2 separate regions of the Homo sapiens genome follow, and region 1 is linked to region 2. Evidence: promoter capture Hi-C in 16 types of primary human blood cells and fetal thymus (Javierre and others, 2016). All regions are on one chromosome and are shown on one strand. The core of a region is centred on a gene start or on the middle of the fragment in contact, and the rest is flanking DNA. Distances in the headings are between cores, read along the strand shown. Region 1 has its middle 6.7 kb from the start of ARHGEF3. Region 2 holds the start of CCDC66 (coiled-coil domain containing 66).

Region 1 (3,703 bases), core at 300-2,799, 250 kb after region 2:
CAGGCCTAGCCTGAGGATAAAACCAGAAGCTAACATGGCTGTGACAGCCTTCTCAGCCAACAGGACAATGCTTTGTCCTATTAGCGTTATATTTTAACATAAGGAATAGCGAGTTCCTTTTTTTTTTTTGAGACACAGTCTTGCTCTGTTGCCTAGGATGGAGTACAGTGGTGTGATCTTGCTCACTGCAACCTCCACCTCCCGGCCTCAAGCAATTTTCCCGCCTCAGCCTCCTGAGTAGCTGGGATTACAGGTACACACCACCACGCCCGGCTAATTTTTTGTGTTTTTAGTAGAGACGGGGTTTCACCATGTTGGCCAGGCTGGTCTCGAACTCCTGACCTCAAGTGATCTGCCCCGCCTTGGCCTCCCAAAGTGCTGGGATTACAGGTGGGAGCCACCGCGCCAGGCCTGAGTTCCTTTTTCTTTAAAGGCTTGTTCATCCATCCGTTCATTCATTTATCAAATAATTAATGAATGCTTATTACAGTCAGGTGTTCAATTAGATACATTTCTCCCCTCCTCTTCTCCACCCATTCCTGAACTTCTATGCCAGGCAGATGTTTAATACATACTTGCTCAAAGAATAAGGCCAATTTTAAAATGTGGCCTTTCAATTGTAACCTATGTGTTTACATTTGAATAAGGAGCTCAAGGAACAGTAGCTGATCCCCGAAAGCCTGGGCCTCCAATATGTGTACCTCTGTTTGCTTTCCCTGGTATCTGAAGTCATCTCTTCTACCTGCTAAAGTGGCATGGATGTGTAGGTATATGGTGGGCACATGAGTGTTGCAACACCTTTCCCCTCCCCTTCCATTTGGGTGACATTTCCAGTTAATGACCAAGCCCCCCTCTCCTCTCTCTAATTTCAGTTTTGATGGGGAGGGAACCTAAAGAAGTTCTGGCAGTGAATTCTGGCAGATCAGGACTGTGATTTACTGCTAGATAGGTAAAAATGGCACAAATGAAGCAACCATCATCTCTAAACTCATACCAGTATTACTATTCTCCCTTTGCCTGAGGAGCTGTCCACTGACTCCAGTCTAGATTTACAAAAATGTATCTCTGGGCTGGGTGCAGTGGCTCATGCCTGTAATCCCAGCACTTTGGGAGGCCAAGGCGGGTGGATCGCCTGAGGTCAGGAGTTCAAGACCAGCCTGACCAACATGGTGAAACCCCGTCTCTACTAAAAATACGAAAATTAGCCAGGCATGGTGGCGGGTGCCTGTAGTCCTAGATACTCGGGAGGCTGAGGCAGGAGAATCACTTGAACCTGGGAGGCAGAGGTTGCAGTGAGCCGAGATCGTGCCACTGCACTCTAGCCTGGGTGACAAAGTTAGACTCTGTCTCAAAAAAAAAAAAAAAAAGTATCCCCGGATAGTCTAAAGCTGGAAGGCTTAATTCTTGCATTTTCTTTAAGGTCTCATTTTCTGAAAAACTGGTTAAAGGAGAGTATCTCTCTCTCCCAGCTGAGCTAATCCTGTGGATTATCAGCTATAAAGCAAAAAAAATAGTAATAATAAATTAGCCAGTCACAGTGGCTCACGCCTGTAATCCCAGCACTTTGGGATGACGAAGCAGGAGGATTGCTTGAGCGCAGGCGTTCGAGACCAGCCTGAACAACATAATGAGATCCCCATCTCTACAAAAAAAGAAATATCCGAAAAGTAGCTGGGCGTAGTAGCATGTGCCTATGGTCCCAGCTACTTAGGAGGCTGAGGTGGGAGGATCCCTTGAGCTCAGGAGGTCGAGGTTGCAGTGAGCCATAATCATGCCAGTGCACTCCAGCCTAGGCAACAGAGTGAGAACCTGTCTCAAAATAATTAATTAATTAAAATAAAAATAAAAAATTAGCTATGAAATTAGCAAATTTTTTTGTTTTTTCAAAAAAATAATAATATTGAAGTGTTTTGCCCTGAAACATCATAAACATTTGCTAGCCTCTGGTTCATAAGAGCAATACTTCTCAACCAATGGTGATTTTACCTCCCAGCAGATATTTGGCACTGTCTGGATGTATTTTTGATTGATTGTCAGTGGACAAGGCCAGGGTGCCATTGGCATCTAATAGGTAAAGGCCAGGGATGCTGTTAACACTTATGATACACAGAACAGCTTCCCATAACAAAGAATTAGCAGGTCCAAAATGCCAATAGTGCCACTATTGAGAAACGCTGTGGTAAAGAGAGAGTGGTCCTGAAATATGGTATTGGAGCCAAGGGAATCTGTGGGTATTGACCTCAAGGTATTTTCACTTCAGACTTTGATCATTGATTAGTATCAAATATCAGCTTAGGCTTGGTGGGGCAAAGAAGAAATGCTTGAGTGCCAAGAAACCCCAGAACAGGGCAATGAATCAAGTCTTCCCTGATGCCCAAACCTGACCGTTGGCTGAATAACAAATTCCATAAAACACAAGACAGACAAAAGAATAAAGAGGAATATAGGAGTAAGGGAGTGAGGGGACAGAAAACTGTCTTAAACTGCTTCAGGTACACAAATATACTTTAAAACACCAGTGAAAATTAAAATTTCAATGAAATATAATAAAGAAGAAACCAGGGAAGAGGGAATTTTTTTCAAGTCTTATTCTTCCCCAGGACAACCTTTGCCACTATATTTGTTTTGGGGGGCAGAAATGCAAACTCAGTGATTAAATGAAAACCCTAAGGGGTTTAATTTACTATTTTCTTGATATATGGTGTTTCTGGATGCACAGTTTGTATAAACAAAAACCTGTCTCACTGAAGATTTTGCAGTAAGAAACCTGACCTTCTCCAATTTGAACTTATAACTATCAGCAGGCTTGTTCTGCCCACAGAAGTAATAAAACATTTTCTGTGTACTACTAGAGTGTCTTTGAATTTTCTGGAGAGTCTGCCTTTGAGAGTATTTCATATTTGGGGGTTAAGGATTCAATAAATATGTTATATTTAATTTTTAAAATATTTTTTACTTTACTTTTTTTTTTTCCTTTGTGACAGAGTCTCACTTTGTCACCCAGGCTGGAGTGCAGTGGTGCAATCTCGGTTCAGTGCAACCTCCACCTCCCAGGTTCAAGCGATTCTCCTGCCTCAGACTCCTGAGTAGCTGGGATTACAGATGTGCACCACCATGCCTGGCTAATTTTTGTATTTTTAGGAAAGACTGGGTTTCACCATGTGGGTCAGGCTGGTCTCGAACTCCTGGCCTCATGTCATCCACCTGCCTCGACCTCCCAAAGGGATTACAGACGTCAGCCACCGTGCCTGGCCATATATTTATTTAGTTATTTATTCCCCTCAGACTACAACTAAGGTATTCCTTTATGTGGGTTTCGTATAGTAACCATTATTCAGAGAAATTAGAACCTAAAATGTATACATTCCAGCTTTGGATATTAGAGGTGTTTTCTCCTCCATCAACTACAAACTCAGTAATCAAAGTACCGTATTTTGTCGAACCTAAGACTGTAATATGTGCTATTATTTTATGTACTCTCTAAAATAGGCTGGGTGTGGTGGCTTACCCCTGTCATCTCAGCACTTTGGGAAGCTGAGGCGGGCAGATCATTTGAGCCCAGGAGTTGGAGACCAGCCTGGGCAACATGCTGAAACCCTGTCGCTACAAAAAATAGACAAAGTAACTGGCATGGTGGCACACATCTGTAGTCCCAGCTACTCGGGAGGCTTGAACCCAGGAAGCAGAGGTTGCAGTGAGCTTG
Region 2 (3,799 bases), core at 399-2,898:
AAAATTTTTTTAAAAATTAACCAGGCGTAGTGGTGCATGCCTGTAGCCCTAGCTACTTGGGAGGCTGAGACAGGAGGATCATTTAAGACCAGGAGTTCGAGGTTACAGTGTTATGTTCGTACCAATGTAGGCGGCCTGGGTGACAGAGCAAAACCCTGTCTCTAAAAAAAAAAAAAAAAGAAAGAAAAGAAAAAGAAAAAGCAAGTGTTGGGGTGAAGAAATTAGAACCTCATATACATTGCTGGCAGAAATGTAAGATGCTGCAACTGTTATGAAAACAGTTTGGCAGTTTCTCGAAAAGTTAACCATAGAATTACCATGTGACCCAGTAATTCCACTCTTAGGTGTATACCAAGAAAATTGAAAATAGGGATTCAAACAGATACTTGTACATCAGTGTTCACTACAGCATTATTCACAATAACTAAAAGATGGAAACAACCCAAATGTCTATTAATGGATGAATGAGTAAACGAATTGTGGTATATATATACATAGAATGGAATACTATTCAATCATAAACAGATATGAAGCTCTGATACATCCTACAACATGGATGCACCTTGAATACATTATGTTACTTGAGAGAAGACACAAAAGGACAAATATTGTATGATTCCACTTTTATGACATGAAGTATCTATAATAGGCAAATTCCTAGAGACAGAAATAAGATTAGAGGTTTCTTAGGATTGAGGGGAGAGGAAAATGGGAAGTTGTTGCTTAATGGGTACAGAATTTTTATTTGGGGGTACTAAAAAGCTTTTGGAAAAATATACTGGCGTATTCCACAACATTGTATCATGGAATTGTCACTTGAAAATGGCTAAAAATAGCAAATTTTAACACACATATTACAACAATAAAAAATAAAAAAGTAAAGGTTTGTCAGGCATTTAATAATTAATACCTTTCATTGTTTTTGTCTGGAAAGAGTGTGTGCAAAGATACTTAACAACCAAATGTAATGTGTGATCCTTGATCGGCTCTTGCATTTTTTTTTTTTTTTTTTGAGACGGAGTCTCACTCTGTCGCCCAAGCTGCTGGAATGCAGTGGCGCGATTGGCTCTTGCTTTCTAAATAAAATGCCTATAAGATATTCTTAGGACAAGTGGGGGAAATTAAATCGGGAAGAGAATTATTATGAAATTAATGATCTTAGGTATAATAATTGTACTGCGGTTATGTAGCAGAACATCTATTCTTAGGAGATACATGCTGCAATGTTAAAGGGTTAAGTGTTACAATGTCTGCAATGTTAAAGGGTTAAGTGTTACAATGTCTGTAACTTACTTGCAAATGGTGACCCCAAAAAGGTGTGTGTGTGTGTGTGTGTGTGTGTGTGTGTGTGTGTGTGTGTGTGTGTGTGTGTGTGTGTCTGTGTACGCGCTTTGGAAGGCTACAATTGCGAGAAGCGCAGGTCTCCGCCACCGAAGCTTTAGACTCATAAGCCGGGTCAGGCCAAATTCCGCTGTGCGTAGGGGAACAAACGGCACAAACGGGGCACAAAAGGGGAACAAACGGCATACGCAACCGTCCCCGCGGGAGCCCCGGCCCAGCTCAGCGCACCCGCCAGCATGCCCCACCCTGATTGGTCCACTTGCTCAGCTCGCCGGCACCCCTATATCCAATTGGCGTAGCGCTTGCTGAGCGGCGGCGGCAACCGACGTACACAAGGGGCTTGAGCGTTCTGTGGAGAGAGTGCGAGGTCAGGCCATGAACTTGGGGTAAGCAGGGGTAAGCTGGGGTAAGCTGGGGTAAGCAAGGTGGTCGTCAGCGGAGAGGGAGGCATGTGTGTCTGGGTTGTCCCTTGGAGTCTTTACTGGAGAACGTTCCCAACCTGCGCCGCCGAGAGGGGCAGAGCCCAGTTCTCGGGTAGAAGATCGAGGCAGATGGGTCGGCCCTTAGCGACTCCACAGACCTTACGTTTTCACTTAATGACTAGCATTAAAACTGCCAGTGATCCCCTTTCGGTCCCTTATTTACCTCAGGATGAGGAGGGAAGAGAGGTGAGGAGGAAAGGAGAGAAATGACGAGACAGTTAGAGGAAGCGTGGCGGCTCCTGGGGAGGACTCCTGGCCCATGCCCCGGGTTCTTCGCCACCTTGTTTTTGGAGTCTTGCAGAATGTTGAAACGCCCAAATTCGTTTTAGGCCCACGAGGCGGGGAACCAGGCTTCTCAAGAAATCGATGTAGTACCAGTGCCTAACACCTAGTAGGCGCTCCTTAAGTAGGGGTGAATAAATAAAAAGGGCTGGTGCATGGTCTTCATCACTCGCAAGTTTGATATTTTGAGAAGATGAGAAGCCACCAAACTCAGACCTAACTACACATCGTTCAGCAAATGTTATTATGTTTTAGAATCTGGGGATATGGAAATAAATAAGATAGTGTGTCCCTTAAGGAGATTACAGTGCAGTGCGTCATTGAAGGTACTTTACCATTGAAGCTCTTTTCTTTCTTGGTGACGTTTCACCAACATAAACACGAACTGTTCATAACCCTACAATAAGGAAAGCCGTAAAACCTATTCTTTCCAGTGTTTTACCTTTAATAGTTAAGGTGAGGTAATTTGATTTCCCCTACCTGAGCAACACCGCAAATTTCGCATTCCTAATCAGACCTTTCCCAGCCTCTCTCTCCCTTGACTGGCTTGCTGGATTTAATTTTCTCTCTCTGAATTATGGACTGTATGTATGGGCTGCCATTTTTGTTCTCAGTGGAGTTTTAGGACCTTAACAGACGTTCAAGTTTTGTTGGCAGTGGCTACTGTTACTTTATGCCTTTGCTTCTGATATGCACGTATAAAGCACCATACTAAATATCACTATGTATTATTTGAAATATTGAAAGTGGTACTCTTTGCTCAAGCAGTTACTAACCTTGATGGCATTGTTAGTAGTCATATCGATGCTCCAGCACTCCATAGAATGTTTTAGTCATGAGTTCATTATGAAACTAATGAATGGCGGTTAAATATATCTTGTTCCTTTAACTTATGTGAGGAGTTTTGGTAACAGCATTATTAAAAAATGGTGGTATGATAACTTAATTTATAGTTTACCAATAACAAAATGAGATTTCAGGTTAATGATAACAATGCTTGTAGTATTGAAGAGTTTCAAGAATTTTCCCCCTGTAGTTGTGGGTTTTATCTTGGATTGCAAACGTTTTTAATTAAAACACTGGTTCGATGTGTACAAGATTCCTGCATAAATTCAAAATAATGGATTTATTGTCAGGTTCAAATGAACATTTCTGGTTATTTAAAATGTTGCGGTTTGTTAAAAATGAGAGACAACTTTCTTTTTTTATTACAGAGATGGTTTAAAGCTTGAAACTGAATTACTGGATGGAAAAACCAAGCTAATATTGTCTCCATATGGTATGTTGTGTTACAGAAATCTGAAATGTTAACTTTTAAATTCATACATAAAATTTATATTAGTTCAACAGACTTTTTGCTTGTAATAGAGTGATATTTAAATGATATTTTAGAAAAAGCTGTTTCCTCAAACTTCTGCAGATTTCCTTCTAGCCAAATAAAATCAGATTACAACACTGCTTACTACTGTCAGTATTCAGACTCATAACATTTAATGTTCCAGTATATTGCGTGTTCATTATATCCATATAGCAAATATCCTCATTGCCTGATGAATAATACAAGTAAAATTTATGTAATTATGTTCTTTGCATGTAAAGAATGTATCATTTGAGAAAAGTTTATAGTAAGACCACCGTAAAATGCTAAAGTCACTTTTAGTATTCGTTTTTAAACTCAGTGTACTTTGGTACCT

The links. The method cuts DNA at HindIII sites, captures the fragments that hold promoters and counts their contacts. A CHiCAGO score of 5 or more calls a contact.
Region 1: a contact is called between a fragment that was not itself captured here and the fragment with the promoter of CCDC66 in region 2, in 6 of 17 cell types (total CD8 T cells, naive CD4 T cells, non-activated CD4 T cells and 3 more). The highest score is 7.1, in total CD8 T cells.

What each region holds. Positions count from the first base shown.
Region 1 is chr3:56,806,774-56,810,476 of GRCh38, forward strand. It overlaps a transcript of ARHGEF3 not described here. Among named protein-coding and RNA genes, the nearest start is that of ARHGEF3, 6.7 kb to the left of the region's middle. The HindIII fragment of the contact is 4,883 bases long and covers 1-3,703 here.
Region 2 is chr3:56,555,527-56,559,325 of GRCh38, forward strand. It overlaps CCDC66 (coiled-coil domain containing 66), which reads left to right and starts at 1,649. Exons shown (of 18, transcript NM_001141947.3): 1 at 1,649-1,727; 2 at 3,320-3,384. The coding sequence starts at 1,717. RefSeq lists enhancers at 1,092-1,764, 1,765-2,436, 1,905-2,064. The HindIII fragment of the contact is 1,896 bases long and covers 1,435-3,330 here.